Linked DNA regions of Homo sapiens: all the other regions are linked to region 1. Evidence: promoter capture Hi-C in human tissues and cell types (Jung and others, 2019). All regions are on one chromosome and are shown on one strand. Each heading gives the region's core, a stretch centred on a gene start or on the middle of the fragment in contact. The rest is flanking DNA. Distances are from core to core; before and after follow the strand shown.

Evidence for each region. The method cuts DNA at HindIII sites, captures the fragments that hold promoters and counts their contacts. A contact is called where the count stands out against the background at its distance.
Region 2: a contact is called between the fragment with the promoter of NBR1 here and the fragment with the promoter of CCR10 in region 1, in 1 of the 25 tissues and cell types used here (mesendoderm cells).
Region 3: a fragment that was not itself captured here is called in contact with the fragment with the promoter of CCR10 in region 1 in 1 of the 25 tissues and cell types used here (pancreas).
Region 4: a contact is called between the fragment with the promoter of AARSD1 here and the fragment with the promoter of CCR10 in region 1, in 1 of the 25 tissues and cell types used here (mesendoderm cells).
Region 5: a fragment that was not itself captured here is called in contact with the fragment with the promoter of CCR10 in region 1 in 1 of the 25 tissues and cell types used here (mesendoderm cells).

The regions. Positions count from the first base shown.
Region 1 is chr17:42,680,441-42,683,332 of GRCh38, reverse strand. It overlaps CCR10 (C-C motif chemokine receptor 10), which reads left to right and starts at 1,490. Exons shown (of 2, transcript NM_016602.3): 1 at 1,490-1,533; 2 at 2,716-2,892. The coding sequence starts at 1,510. It overlaps CNTNAP1 (contactin associated protein 1), which reads right to left and starts at 802. Exons shown (of 24, transcript NM_003632.3): 1 at 437-802. The coding sequence starts at 503. RefSeq lists enhancers at 348-397, 658-707, 651-1,269, 2,488-2,892 and a silencer at 1,808-2,102. The HindIII fragment of the contact is 6,302 bases long and covers 1-2,892 here.
Region 2 is chr17:43,169,860-43,172,751 of GRCh38, reverse strand. It overlaps NBR1 (NBR1 autophagy cargo receptor), which reads right to left and starts at 1,538. Exons shown (of 21, transcript NM_005899.5): 1 at 1,450-1,538. LOC101929767 (a long non-coding RNA gene) reads left to right here and starts at 2,349. Exons shown (of 2, transcript NR_110868.1): 1 at 2,349-2,626. LOC124900391 (a long non-coding RNA gene) reads left to right here and starts at 1,788. Exons shown (of 2, transcript XR_007065760.1): 1 at 1,788-2,336. It also overlaps a transcript of BRCA1 not described here and the pseudogene BRCA1P1. RefSeq lists enhancers at 1,398-1,507, 1,828-1,937, 2,188-2,237, 2,508-2,717. The HindIII fragment of the contact is 14,047 bases long and covers 1-2,892 here.
Region 3 is chr17:42,337,837-42,340,728 of GRCh38, reverse strand. It overlaps STAT3 (signal transducer and activator of transcription 3), which reads left to right. Exons shown (of 24, transcript NM_139276.3): 5 at 1,320-1,415; 6 at 1,917-1,998; 7 at 2,872-2,892. Among named protein-coding and RNA genes, the nearest start is that of STAT3, 49 kb to the left of the region's middle. RefSeq lists a silencer at 2,876-2,892. The HindIII fragment of the contact is 7,087 bases long and covers 1-2,892 here.
Region 4 is chr17:42,962,812-42,965,703 of GRCh38, reverse strand. AARSD1 (alanyl-tRNA synthetase domain containing 1) reads left to right here and starts at 1,250. Exons shown (of 12, transcript NM_001261434.2): 1 at 1,250-1,302; 2 at 1,467-1,598. The coding sequence starts at 1,264. It overlaps PTGES3L-AARSD1 (PTGES3L-AARSD1 readthrough), which reads left to right. Exons shown (of 17, transcript NM_001136042.2): 7 at 1,467-1,598. The HindIII fragment of the contact is 19,831 bases long and covers 1-2,892 here.
Region 5 is chr17:42,946,399-42,949,290 of GRCh38, reverse strand. No RefSeq gene overlaps it. Among named protein-coding and RNA genes, the nearest start is that of AARSD1, 17 kb to the left of the region's middle. The HindIII fragment of the contact is 8,985 bases long and covers 1-2,892 here.

The DNA of each region.
Region 1 (2,892 bases), core at 241-2,740:
CTGCTTGGATCCCTGCCACAAAACCCAGCCCCAGCCACAAACCCCAGCCCTAGCCACAAACCCCACCCCTTGGCCAGCTCCAAAGTCCAGCCTTAAGCCCTGGCAAAACCTTAATCCTAGTATCGGTCACCAGTATACACTTATCCCCCAGCCCTAGCCTCAAACCCAGGCACCAGCTCCTGCTTGGATCCCAACCCCAAATCCCTGCCCGCTGACTTCATCCTCTTCCCAGAGCCCAGCCCCAGCCCCGGGCGCGCGCGGCAGCCTCAGAGCTGCAATGCGGAGCGCGGGGGAGAGGCAGGAAAAGATGAGAGCCAGCGGGCGCGCGCCGGCCGGGAAGGACCCGCGACCACCCAGCCGCAATGCGGTTCGGGGCCGCCCTGCAGGCTCTGGACTCCTGGGCCCAACCCCACCTGCCTCCAAGCCCAACACTCACAGTAGCCCCAGCCCTCGGCTCCTGAGACCGCGGCGAGCAGGATGCAGAAGAGCCGGAGATGCATCATGCAGGGCTGACGGTCCCGGCAGCCGCCTCCCTGTGAACGGCTCCGGCTAGGGCTCGAGTTCTGGCTTGGGCTCCAAGCTCTCCTCCTGGGGTTTGCAGCAGACCGCTCTCTCCTCCTTACCCACCCTTCCCTCCCTCTCTCCTTTCGCCCCCAAGCGCTCTGTCTCTCCTCTCTCTTTTCTCTCTCTCTCTCTCTGGTTCCTGGTCCTCCGCTCTTCTCTCTCTATCCTCTCCTTTCCACCCTCTTTCCTCTCACCTCCCCCCTTCCCCAGCCTCTGTCTCCTGGCACGCGCCGGTTTCCCGGACCCCGCGCAAGCGCGTGCCTCAGCCCTGCTGCGAAAGGGCGGGGGTAGAGAGCCTCTCGCCACCGGGAAAACCCCAAGTAACCCGAGGCTGCCCGGGACTAGGGCCACAGGAGTGAGGACAGGGAACCTAGGGCCAGAAGCATCCTGAAAATTTCAAGAAAAGGGAGGTGGTTTGGGGGAGGGGTGCCTGGAAATGGAATGAAGGGTAAGTAAAAGAATCTTAACATTTTCGGAAGGCAAATTATGCTCTAGGAGTGGTGCTGGGCACTGTGAATTTAGCATTTTTGCCCTACTCCACTTTGCAGATGAAAAACCTCAGGCTCAGAGAGGTCAAGAAACTTAGTCAATATCACACAGCAAATGATTATATTCCGAAGCCCGTTCTTTCTTCACTGACAAAGACAGTAAATTATTTTTTCTTTCTTTCGTTCATTCTTTTTTCTTTCTTTCCTTCCTTTTTTTCTTTCTTTCTTTCTTTCTTTCCTCTTTCCTTCCTTTCTTCTTCTTTTTTTTTTTTTCGTAAAATCCAGATCCTGCACAAGAGAGTGAAGTCTTTTGGAGGAGGTGGAATGGGAAAGTGACCCCGTAGACCCTAATCCCCACCTCCCTCTCGGCCCCTCTCCCCGCCTCTTCCTTCCTGTCCCGCTAGTAGTTTAACTTCTACCCCCTGTGGCTATACCTCAGAAACCTGTGTAGCCAGAGATGGGGACGGAGGCCACAGAGCAGGTGGGAGTGGGGGCAGGGAGGGGGAGAAGGGTTACAGAGAGGGAGGAGACAGGGAAGGAATGGGATTCCCCACCTGGCAATGGGCCTCTGCCATCCTATGGCTTATTCAGGATTCTTGGCGCTGTCTCAGACTAGGGGTCCTCCAGATAAATGGGCTGGTGGTGTGAGGCTGGGGTTGTGGGACAGGGACTAGGGCTGAGGGGAAAGGCGGGTTGAACCTAGAGGTCCAGGGTCCCACCTGGGCCCTGAAAACCTGAGTCCCAACCCTGGAGACCCCCTTGGCATGAGTGGTTCAGTGTGCTGGTATTGGAGGTACAGGGAAGGTGGGTATGGAAGGGAAAGAAGAGAAACAGAAACCCACTCCAGACGGAGGTTGGAGTCCAGGGCTCAGGTCTGAGGCAAAGCCTGCATATGGGCATCCTTCCAGGAGAGGGCGCTGCAAAGGGAACTGAAGCTGTAGGATTTATTAATAATACAAACTTTGGGCTGGGCGTGGTAGCTCAGGCCTGTAATCCCAGTACTTTGGGAGGCCAAGGTGGGCGGATCACCTGAGGTCAGGAGTTCGAGACCATCCTGGCCAACATGGTGAAACCCCATCTCTACTAAAAATACAAAAATTAGCTGGGCGTGGTGGTGGGCGCCTGTAGTCCCAGCTACTTGGGAGGCTGAGGCAGGAGAATCTCTTGAACCCGGAGGCGGAGGTTGCAGTGAGCCGAGATCGTGCCACTGCACTCCAGCCTGGGCGACAGAGCAAGACTCTGTCTCCAATAATAATAATAATAAATAATAATAATAATACAAACTTTGTATTATGGCCTTTGGAGAACACAGGTTCTCCCCATCCATTATTTTCCATATTGCCATCTTCACAGCAAACCTTGAGAGGTGGGCTGGTCAGGATTTATAATCTCAACATTACAGGTTAGGTAACTGAGGTCTAGAAAGAGCAAGTGGCTTGCTCAAGGTCACCCAGGAAGCTGGAAGCAGAGGTAGGAGGGGTGCAAGGGAAGCCAAGGCCTGCTGAAGGTGTGCTAGGAAGAGTCTGGAGAAGAGCTTATGTCTCCCCGTGTACTGTTACATCTGGCCACACAGGAGCTCTCAGCTTGGAAGGCAAGTGTGGGCGGGGGAGTTGTGTGGTCAGATGTGTCTCATAAGATCCCGCCTCTCATTTGACCCTCCCAGGTTTCCTGGGGCCATTACTCTGGGGATGAAGAGGACGCATACTCGGCTGAGCCACTGCCGGAGCTTTGCTACAAGGCCGATGTCCAGGCCTTCAGCCGGGCCTTCCAACCCAGTGTCTCCCTGACCGTGGCTGCGCTGGGTCTGGCCGGCAATGGCCTGGTCCTGGCCACCCACCTG
Region 2 (2,892 bases), core at 289-2,788, 490 kb before region 1:
AATTAAGACTGTCATTTAAAGGCACTTTTTTGAAACCCTAAGACAATTATCCCCCAATTTTCTCCATTCTTTGTTTCTACCAAGAACCAAGTTCACCACCAAAATAATATTAGTCTCTTAACAACAATCCTGCTGACATCTAGTATTCATTCATATGAAATGTAATTATTGGGGTCCTTAAAATTTGAGAATCTTTGTCAATTCCCCAGGACCTTAGGCAAAAAATCAAGGAAATGAAGTGACTCAGTCCGCCAAAAGTGGGTATTCTGAAATATCACTTTCCAACTTCAAGAAACACACTTCCCTACTTGTGAAGGAAATGAATCTTCCTCTCTTTTTCTCAAATTACACAATTGGAAATTTAGATACTCTGGAGCTCCTCCAGCTGGTGGGCCAACTAAGAGAAAACAGGAAGTGGGAGATTCTAGCTTGGCTGGACCATATCCAGGTCTTCATAAGGAACTCTCTTTGGCTGACATGTAAAAAAATTCTTTCAGCAGGAGCATTAATCTTAAACGTGTGTAAACACCAAAGCTATGGTTAACCCTATCTGCCCCTTAGGTCTACAGCCAGTAGAGTCAGATAGCTGGGTCTTAGGCCTTCAGCTTTCATAACTGGCATTATTGTAAGTCCATGCCACTGACTCACCTTTGCTTGGCACAAGTTAGCTTTTCCTCCACGTCGATTTTTTTTTCAGCCTCAACAAAATCCCTTTAATGAAACAGACCTGGCAACCTGAGCTTTGATTACTGTCTCCACCAGAGGCCTTTACAAGCCAAGTTATCCAGGCTTTAAAATGTGTGACCTGAGGCCGGGAGCGGTGGCTTATACCTGTAATCCCAGCACTTTGGGAGGCCAAGGCACGAGGATCGCTTGAGCTCAGCAGTTCAAGCCCAGCCTGGGTTGGTCTTTGAGAAAGCAAGACTCTGTCTCAAAAAAGTGTGGCCTGAAAGCTGAGTGTTTGACAAAAAGGAAAAACAGTGCCTTTCCAAAACCGAAGGTCCCTAACCAAGGAGATCTCTTTAAGGTCTCGAAAAAACGAGGATGGGATGAGAAGGATGTGTAAGTAGTGTCATTTTTTTACTTGCAGAGTTCATCCTAGTCTTCCAGTTTTCGTTTCCTAGCACTCCATGTTCCCAAGACAGTGTCACTACCCCGAGGGCTCTCTCATTTTCTTTGCCTAGGCCCTCATTCCACTGGGGAGTCGTGGCCTTCCATCAGTAGAAGCCGGATGTTCTGACCCACAGACTCTCCAACTCTCCGGCGCTTCTCGCCAACTCGGTCCCTCTGAACATGAAGGGCTCTCTCATCCTGTCACTAAAAAGATTAGCTGTCCCGAAACACGGAAAAAGTCGCCCCTCTTCTTTGCAGGATTCCTCCCTTGAACTTCCCCAAACCCTCTTAGCGTGACGTGACCCCACCCCTAGGTAACCGCAGCTGCTTCCTTACCAGCTTCCCGCCCCCGGGGGGCGCCTGCCGGAGGCCAATGCAAGGACCGTCCGCTACCGGCTCTGCCGCTATCCCTGTGGGGTGAATCTAACATGGCGGATAAAGACAGTAACTAGTCCCCTGTTTCTCCGAGTGTTCGCCAAGATGATTGGCTCTCACCACTTGTCCCTCAAAACGACCACGCCATTGATTGGTGGAGATTGCGTCGATGGGGCGGGGCAGAAGCAACCTGAACCCGAACAACAATAACAAACATTGAGGCTGAGGGGCGGAACTAGGAGTGCGCAGATGTGGGCCAGAGCGGATTTCCCCTTCCCCAGGCAAATTCGGCGCCCACTGCGTCCCCGCAGGCCACTGACCTTAGAGGACTACTTGCCCGAGACTCGTGGGGCTGGATGGGAATCGTAGTCTTCCTAGGAGTTGTAGGTATCTTTTTTTGGCCTAGTCTCTGCTCTCAAGATAGGAGAACATAACAACACTCCAATCCATTACTGTTGACATGTATAAGCCCGCGGAGGTCTCCAATCTATCCACTGGATTTCCGTGAGAATTGTGCCCGCTTTGGTATTGGATGTTCCTCTCCATAAGACTACAGTTTCCAAGGAACAGTGTGGCCAAGGCCTTTCGTTCCGCAATGCATGTTGGAAATAGTAGTTCTTTCCCTCCACCTCCCAACAATCCTTTTATTTACCTAAACTGGAGACCTCCATTAGGGCGGAAAGAGTGGGGTAATGGGACCTCTTCTTAAGACTGCTTTGGACACTATCTTACGCTGATATTCAGGCCTCAGGTGGCGATTCTGACCTTGGTACAGCAATTACTGTGACGTAATAAGCCGCAACTGGAAGCGTAGAGGCGAGAGGGCGGGCGCTTTACGGCGAACTCAGGTAGAATTCTTCCTTTTCCGTCTCTTTCTTTTTATGTCACCAGGGGAGGACTGGGTGGCCAACCCAGAGCCCCGAGAGATGCTAGGCTCTTTCTGTCCCGCCCTTCCTCTGACTGTGTCTTGATTTCCTATTCTGAGAGGCTATTGCTCAGCGGTTTCCGTGGCAACAGTAAAGCGTGGGAATTACAGATAAATTAAAACTGTGGAACCCCTTTCCTCGGCTGCCGCCAAGGTGTTCGGTCCTTCCGAGGAAGCTAAGGCCGCGTTGGGGTGAGACCCTCACTTCATCCGGTGAGTAGCACCGCGTCCGGCAGCCCCAGCCCCACACTCGCCCGCGCTATGGCCTCCGTCTCCCAGCTTGCCTGCATCTACTCTGCCCTCATTCTGCAGGACTATGAGGTGACCTTTACGGAGGATAAGATCAATGCCCTTATTAAAGCAGCCAGTGTAAATATTGAAACTTTTTGGCCTGGCTTGTTTGCAAAGGTCCTGGCCAACGTCAACATTGGGAGCCACATCTGCAGTGTAGAGGGGGGGAAAAAAACGTGACTGCGCGT
Region 3 (2,892 bases), core at 393-2,892, 340 kb after region 1:
GGGCATGGGTCACCTTCCCAAAACTTCTAAGAAGTTTGTATTCTGTGGGCTTGGATAGGGACCATGGGAAAGGAAGAGAATGGTTGCCCATAAAACTGGCTGTAGTGTGGCCTCAAACTTCTGGACTTAAATGATCCTCCCACCTCAGCCTCCCAAGTAGCTAGAACTACAGGTATATGCCACCATGCCCAGCTAGTTAAAAAAAAATTTTTTTTTTTTTTTGGTTGAGATGAGGTCTCTTTCTATGTTCCCTGGGCCGGTCTCAAACTCCCAGCCTCAAGTGATCCTCCTGCCTTGGTTTCCCAAAGTGCTAGGATTATAGGTGGGAGCTACCATGCCTAGCCCAAGCCTGTAATTTTTTTTTTTTTTTTTTGAGATGGAGTTTCACTTTTGTTGCTCAGGCTGGAGTGCATGGCGCAGTCTTGGCTCACCACAACCTCCACCTCCCGGGTTCAGGCGATTCTCCTTCCTCAGCCTCCCGAGTAGCTGGGATTACAGGCATGCACCACCAAGCTCAGCTAACTTTGTATTTTTAGTAGAGATGGGTTTCTCCGTGTCGGTCAGGCTGGTCTCAAACTCCTGACCTCAGGTAATCTGCCCACCTTGGCCTCCCAAAGTGCTGGGATTACAGGCATCAGCCACCGCACCTGGCACGAACCTGTAATTTTTAAGTTTCATATGCTATTTATTTTTTGTTATTTCTTTAATTCATTCATTCATTTATTCATTCGAGATGGGGCCTCACTATGTTGACTAGGCTAGTTTTGAACTCCTGGCCTCAAGCAGTCCTCCCACTTCAGCCTTCCCAAGTGCTGATATTATAGGTGTGAGCTGCTACATCCAGCCTTCTTTCTTCTTTTTCTTTTTCCATGTGCTATTTGACATTTTCCAAGGTACCAGCCTCCCCTTCTCCCCAAGATAATATCTTTTAATATGGAATTTCATCCCTAGGGCAGGACTTTTTTTTTATTATCCCTCAGAAATATACTGGACACCACGTTTAAGTAGACATCCAACATCTGCTGTCATAAATTGTTTTGAATTTTTTGACATACTTGCCCATGAGGTTTTTGAAGGCATAGACCATGTCTTAGCTGAACATGTGGTCTCTTAGTGCCATAAAGGGGGTTTATGGTATGACCTGTGTAGTGTCACCTGTGTAGTGACAGCACCACTGCCTCTGTTTCCCTTCCTCTTGTGATGGCAGCAGCGTCTCAAGCCAAACAAGAAGGGTAGTTAGGGTGGGATGGAAGCTGGGTAGAGGTATTCCTCTCCCCATAGTTCTGTGTTCACATGTGCATTGACCTCCTTTTTGGCAGCAAGGGGGCCAGGCCAACCACCCCACAGCAGCCGTGGTGACGGAGAAGCAGCAGATGCTGGAGCAGCACCTTCAGGATGTCCGGAAGAGAGTGCAGGTGATGCAAGTTACAAGCCTCGGGCAGGGAGCTTTCATTAATTTTTTTTTTTTTTTTTGAGACAGGGTCTTGCTCTGCCACTCAGGCTGGGCTGCAGTGGCATGATCACAGCTCACTGCAGCCTCGACCTCTCAGGCCCAAGCGATCCTCCTACCTCATCCTCCCAAGTAGCCGGGACCACAGGCATGCACCACCACGCCCAGCTAATTAAAAAAAAAAAATTTGTAGAGATGGGGGTCTCCCTGTGTTGTCCAGGCTGATCATGAACTCCTGGGCTCAAGTGATCCTCCCAACTCAGCCTCTCAAAGTGCTGGCATTACAGGCGTGAGCCACTGCACCTGGCCAACAGGGAGCCTTCTCTTGGGGATACTGCCTGCAGGTCCTGCATGTATCTTTTTTGAGGTTTTGGCTTCATTTGAATTCTCCTCAGAAACTTTATATTTTCTGTTCCCAAGGAAATCTTTCTTTACTTCTGTTTTTTTGTTTGCTTATTTTAAACAGGATCTAGAACAGAAAATGAAAGTGGTAGAGAATCTCCAGGATGACTTTGATTTCAACTATAAAACCCTCAAGAGTCAAGGAGGCAAGTGAATATTAGAGATGTTAAAATCTCTAGAAAGTGAGTTTGTGTTGTTGAGTTGAAAGACTCATTTGTCTTAACTCTGTTTAGATCTTAAGGCGGGCGGGGCGCAAGGGAGGTACGGGTCCTCAAAGGAGCCTGGTCATTAAGGACAGGAGTATTCCCTCAGGTCCAGGAGTATTCCCTCAGGTCCAGGAGTATTCCCTCAGGTCAAGGAGTATTCCCTCAGGTCAAGGAGTATTCCCTCAGGTCCAGGAGTATTCCCTCAGGTCCAGGAGTATTCCCTCAGGTCCAGGAGTATTCCCTCAGGTCCAGGAGTATTCCCTCAGGTCCAGGAGTATTCCCTCAGGTCAAGGAGTATTCCCTCAGGTCCAGGAGTATTCCCTCAGGTCCAGGAGTATTCCCTCAGGTCCAGGAGTATTCCCTCAGGTCCAGGAGTATTCCCTCAGGTCCAGGAGTATTCCCTCAGGTCAAGGAGTATTCCCTCAGGTCCAGGAGTATTCCCTCAGGTCCAGGAGTATTCCCTCAGGTCCAGGAGTATTCCCTCAGGTCAAGGAGTATTCCCTCAGGTCCAGGAGTATTCCCTCAGGTCCAGGAGTATTCCCTCAGGTCCAGGAGTATTCCCTCAGGTCCAGGAGTATTCCCTCAGGTCCAGGAGTATTCCCTCAGGTCCAGGAGTATTCCCTCAGGTCCAGGAGTATTCCCTCAGGTCCAGGAGTATTCCCTCAGGTCAAGGAGTATTCCCTCAGGTCCAGGAGTATTCCCTCAGGTCCAGGAGTATTCCCTCAGGTCCAGGAGTATTCCCTCAGGTCAAGGAGTATTCCCTCAGGTCAAGGAGTATTCCCTCAGGTCAAGGAGTTTTTTCTTCCTTCGCAGACATGCAAGATCTGAATGGAA
Region 4 (2,892 bases), core at 1-2,500, 280 kb before region 1:
GCCCAAACTATTTTAATGTAATGTAATGTAATTTTCTTGAGACGTAGTCTCGCTGGGTTACCCAGGCTGGAGTGCAGTGGTACGATTTCGGCTCACTGCAACCTCCTCCTCTCGGGTTAAAGTGATTCTCCTGCCTCAGCCTCCCGTGTAGCTGGGATTATATAGGCGTGTGCCACCACGCCTGGCTAATGTTTTTGTGTTTTTAGTAGAAACAGGGTTTCACCATGTTGGCCACGCTGGCCAAATTGTTCTTCTTTTTTTTTTTTTTTTTTTTTTTTGAGACGGAGTCTCGCTCTGTCGCCCAGGCTGGAGTGCAATGGTGCGATCTCGGCTCACTGCAAGCTCCGCCTCCCAGGTTCACGCCATTCTCCTGCCTCAGCCTCCGGAGTAGCTGGGACTACAGGCGTCCGCCACCACGCCCGGCTAATTTTTTGTATTTTTAGTAGAGACGGGATTTCACCGCGTTAGTCAGGATGGTCTCGATATCCTGACCTCGTGATCCGCCCGCCTCGGCCTCCCAAAGTGCTGGGATTACAGGCGTGAGTCACCGCGCTCGGCCTTTTTTTTTTTTTTTTTTTTTTTTTTTAATTGAGACGGAGTCTCGCTCTGTCGCCCAGGCTGGAGTGCAGTGGTGCAATCTCTGCTCACTGCAACCCCGCCTCCCGGGTTCCAGCGATTCTCCTGCCTCAGCCTCCCGGGTAGCTGGGATTACAGGCGCCCGCCACCACGCCCGGCTAATTTTTGTATTTTTAGTAGAGACGGAGTTTCGCTATGTTGGCCAGGCTGGTCTCGAACTCCTGGCCTGAGGTGATCCACCCGCCTCGACCTCCCAAAATGCTGGGATTACAGGCGTGAGCCACCTCCCCCAGCTCCTTGCTTTCTATTTCTACTGGGCAGTGCTGCTCAGTAACCATGCCAGTCCCGTCCCCGCCTCTATGCGCTGGGATTCCGCAGCCAGAATACTTACATCCCTGGGGCCCCAAGGGGCTCACTAAACCACGTGCCTTGTCCAGGTCGCGTTTTTTTGTTTTTGTTTGTTTGTTTTTTTCCTCCTGGTCTTGTCCTTTGTAAAGCCTTAGAACAGTCGTTAAACAACCCAGCAAATATGCAATTCGCGTTTTCAGTAAATTTATCCAAACCGCATTCCATTCCTTACCCTCCTGCTTCTGCGCAGACAAGCGCCCTTGATGACGTTTGTCCCACGTCGCTCTCCGTTCGCTCCCAGGCTTCTCTGCGCGTGCGCCTCCTCACACGCCTGCAGGTATGGCGTTCTGGTGTCAGCGTGACAGTTATGCCCGAGAGGTACGGCGTCACGGCGAGGCACTTGAGACTGCCGGGCCGGCAAGGCGGTTTGGGGAAGAGGGCGCCACGTGTAGGGAGTGCCAACATGGCATTCTGTCCTGGTGTGGAGAGGGCTAGGGCTAGGGCTGGGGTCGGGGCTTATTCTCTCATTCCTCTCTGTTCAGTTCACCACCACCGTGGTCTCCTGCTGTCCCGCGGAGCTGCAGACTGAAGGGAGCAACGGCAAGAAAGAAGTGCTGAGCGGTTTCCAAGTGGTGCTGGAAGACACAGTGCTTTTCCCTGAGGGCGGGGGACAGGTACCAAAACGATCTCTTCCCAGGAAGCCCCCAGTTTCTTTGTGCTCAGGCCGAAATGCTCTCCTGCCCCTTTTTTCTCAGCCATAATGAATTCAGATGAGCTTTAGTTTAATTCATTTTGTTATTCATTTAATGAGTATTTATCAGCAATTGCTTATCTAGACATAACATATGCTAGATATTATTCCAGGCTGTAAGGATAACCGGTGAACAACACAGTGCCTTTATATACGTGGAATGTTTATTGAAGACAACTGTGTGTGCTAGGTATAATAAGTAATAAACAAAAACCAAGTAAAGGGAAAGAGAGTGATGGGATGCTTGTCTAGATGAAGGGTAAGTTATTTCAGTAGAGACCTAAACGAAGTGAGGGGGTGAGTCTTTGCAATTATCTAGTGGTGCTGGGGGGCAGAGGGAGTATTCAGGCAGGTAGAATAGCAGGTGCAAAGGCCCCAAGGAAGGAATTAGCTTCGGGTTTTAGGGACTGAAAAAGATGTTCCTGAAGGAGTTCAGGTGAGATAGACGGGTTACAGTAGTACAGCAGAGAGCATATTTATCAGTGCTGTGATGAGGACTAGGTACAACATGAGCGCAAGTGAGGTACATTGTGAAGATGGAAGAGGAGGATAATAACACCAAAGGTGGGCATTATGAGAAAGGCTTTTCTTTCTTTTCTTTTCTTTCTTTCTTTCTTTTTTTTTTTGAGACAGAATCTCTCGCTGTCATCAGGCTGAAGTGCAGTGGCATGATCTCAGCTCTGCAACCTCCGCCTCCTGGGTTCAAGTGATTCTCCTGTCTCAGCCTCCCAAGTAGCCTGACCAACATGATGAAACCTTGTCTCTACTAAAAATATAAAAATTAACCAGGCATACTGGCAGGCCCCTGTAGTCCCAGCTACTCGGGAGGCTGAGGCATGAGAATCACTTGAACCGGGAGGCTGAAGTTGCAGTGAGCCAAGATTGTGCCACTGCACTTCAGCGTGGGGGACAGAACAAGACTCCGTCTCAAAAGAAAAAAAAAAGGTGTATTAAGGTGTGTGGGCAGCGAACCATGCAGGTTATTTTCTTTCTTTTTTATTTTTAAGAGACAGGATCTTGCTATGTCACCCAGGCTGGAGTGCAGTGGCCTGATCTAGCTCACTGCAGCCTCGAACTCCCAGGCTCAAGCAATCCTCCTGTTTTAGCCTCTCCAGTAGTGGGGACTACAGGCGCACAACCAACATGCTTGGCTGCTTTTTTGTAGAGATGAGGTCTCACTTTATTGCCCAGGCTGATCTTGAGCTCCTGGCCTCAAA
Region 5 (2,892 bases), core at 134-2,633, 270 kb before region 1:
CAAAAGCTGACATCCAGGGGAGATAACCTGTGGCTGTGGCTGTGGCTGTGTTCAGCTATTTGTTCTTCCGACTCTGAAAGGAACTTTTTTTTTTTTTGGAGATAAGAGTCTTGTTCTGCCACCTAGGCCGGAGTGCAGTGGCATGATTTTGGCTCACTGCAACCTCCGCTTCCTGGGTTCAAGCAATTCTTGTGCCTCAGCCACCCAAGTAGCTGGGATTACAGGTGTGTGCTACCAAAAATTTCCTTCAACCCTGCCACTGAGTTACCCAATTTCTTTCTCCAGAATCAATCACTTAATTTTTTTGTTTTAGATGGAGTTTCGCTCTTGTTGCCCAGGCTGGAGTGCAATGGCGCAGTCTCCGCTCACTGCAACCTCCGCCTCCCGAGTTCAAGCAATTCTCCTGCCTCAGCCTACCGAGTAGCTGGGATTACAGGCATGTGCCACCATGCCCGGCTAATTTTGTATTTTTAGTAGAGATGGGGTTTCACCATGTTGGCCAGGCTGGTCTCGAGCTCCTGACCTCAGGTAATCCGCCGGCCTCGGCCTCCCAAAGTGCTGGGATTACAAGTATGAGCCACCATGCCTGGCCTTTTTTTTTTTTTTTTTTCCAGATATAGTCTCACTCTGTTGCCCAGGCTGGAATGCAGTGGCACAATCATGGCTTACTGCAGTCTCAACCTCCTGGGAACAGGTGATCCTCCCACCTCAGCCCTCTGAGTAGCTGGGACTAGAGGTGTGCACCACCACACCTGGCTAATTTTTTGTATTTTTTCTAGAGACAGTGCTTTGCCGTGTTGCCCACACTAGTCTTGAACTCCTGGGCTCTAGCAATTTGTCCACTTTGGCCTCCCAGTGTTGGGATTACAGGCGTGAGCCACCATGCCCAGCCTGTTACCAATTTCTTATATATCCCTCTGGTAGTATTTTAAAAAATAGATGTACATAAATCTTCCCTCTTTTTAAACATAAATGGTAGCACATTGTATACTCTTCTGCATCTTGCTTTTCTCAGAGTGCCATGTTTTAGATAAAACCATAGTGTAACACTCATGCTATACAAAATGGGTCCATTAGTGGGAGAAAGGGAAATGTTTGCTTCACAGAAGCTTCCTTACTTTTGTAGAAGGACTCAGGCAGGATCTTGAACAGAGACCCATGTGAATTTGTCTCTGTGTGAGATCTCTGTCCCTCTCTGTGTTTGTTTCTTTAGGGTGTGCCTTAGTCTGATCTGACTGCTATAATAACAAAAACTAGGTAGCTTATAAACAACAAAAATGTATTTCTCACAGTGGAGGCTGGGAAGCTGGCAAATTCAGTGTCTGGTGTGAAGGTTCAAATACTGGTTCAGGAATAGCCATCTTTTTGCACCCTTGGTGCAAAGGGTAAGGGGTCTTTCTTGGGCCTTTTTTTTTTTTTTTTTTTTTTGAGACAGATGGAGTTTCACTCTTGTTGCTCAGGCTGAAGTGCAATGGTGCAATCTCAGCTCACTGCAACCTCCACCCCCTAGGTTCAAGTGATTCTCCTGCCTCAGCCTCCCGAGTAGCTGGGATTACAGGCGCCTGCCATCCCACCCAGCTAATATTTTGTATTTTTAGTAGAGATGGGGTTTCACCATGTTGGCCAGGCTGGTCTCGAACTCCTGACCTCAGGTGATCCGCCTGCCTCAGCCTCCCAAAGTGCTGGGATTACAGGCATGAGCCTCCGCACCCAGCCCTCTCGGGCCTCTTTTATAATGCACTAATTTCATTCACGAAGGCTCTGCCCCCGTGACCTAATCACCTGCTAAAGGGCCCACCTCCTGATACCACTTAGGGGGTTAGGATTTCAACATATGAATTTTTAGGGGTACACAAAGATTCAGAACACAGGTGCAACAACAAGAACAGTGACCTGGGAGGCCACTCTTGCTCACTACCACTCAGGTGGGTTCTTGTCACTTAGACCTAGAGCAACCATGTAATTTTAATATCCAGAGTTAGGCAAACCTCATGCCAGAACAACAGTCAGAAACCCAGACGGTGTTAAGGTAGCCTGGATGTCTGGTCCCCCTGCTGAGACTCCCTGAGCTTCAGTTTCTTGACCTGAAAATGGACACATGAACTGGGTGTCCTAAGAAGGAAGGAACCTTATGAAATAATTAAGAAAAGCCATAAACACTTGAGCAAATTATGTGAAAATGGTAATTGGTTGTATAAAGAAAGAGAAAATAAAGCAGCAGTTTTTGAACTGGTGATGTCATTCTTGCCTGTCACTGAGGCCCTAATCCAATGCCCCAGGGAGAGGGGGAGAAGAACAGAGTGTGTTCAGGGGAAGGGGTGGATTGTCTTTTATGAGGTTCACCAGGAAACAAAATGAGTTCATTTATTGGAGTAATCAAGTTTTAGGTACACACACAGGTTATATATTCTGGAATGTTACTATAACCCACTTTACGGCACAGAAATAGTAAGGGGGACTCCTTGGCTTCTAAGGAAATTTTTTTATGTGCGTACCCATAAATTGCTGAAGACAGCTGCTGTAGCTTCCACTAAGGTGATGCATGTAGGTACTAGAACAGATGTTAGTATGAAAGATGAAAGGTATCAGGTGGAAGAGACCCAGAGCAGTAGACAGACTGAATTCAGGGCCGGCGCTGTGGCTCATGCCTGTAATCCCAACACTTTGGGAGGCTGAGGCAGGTGGATCACCTGAGGTCGGGAGTTTGAGATCAGCCTGACCAACATGGGAAAAACCCCGCCTCTACTAAAAATACAAAATTAGCCAAGTGTGGTGGCGCATGCCTGCAATCCCAGCTACTCTGGAGGCTGAGGTAGGAGAATTGCTTGAACCCGGGAGGCGGAGGTTGCAGTGAGCCAAGATCGCGCCGTTGCACTCCATCCAGCCTAGGCA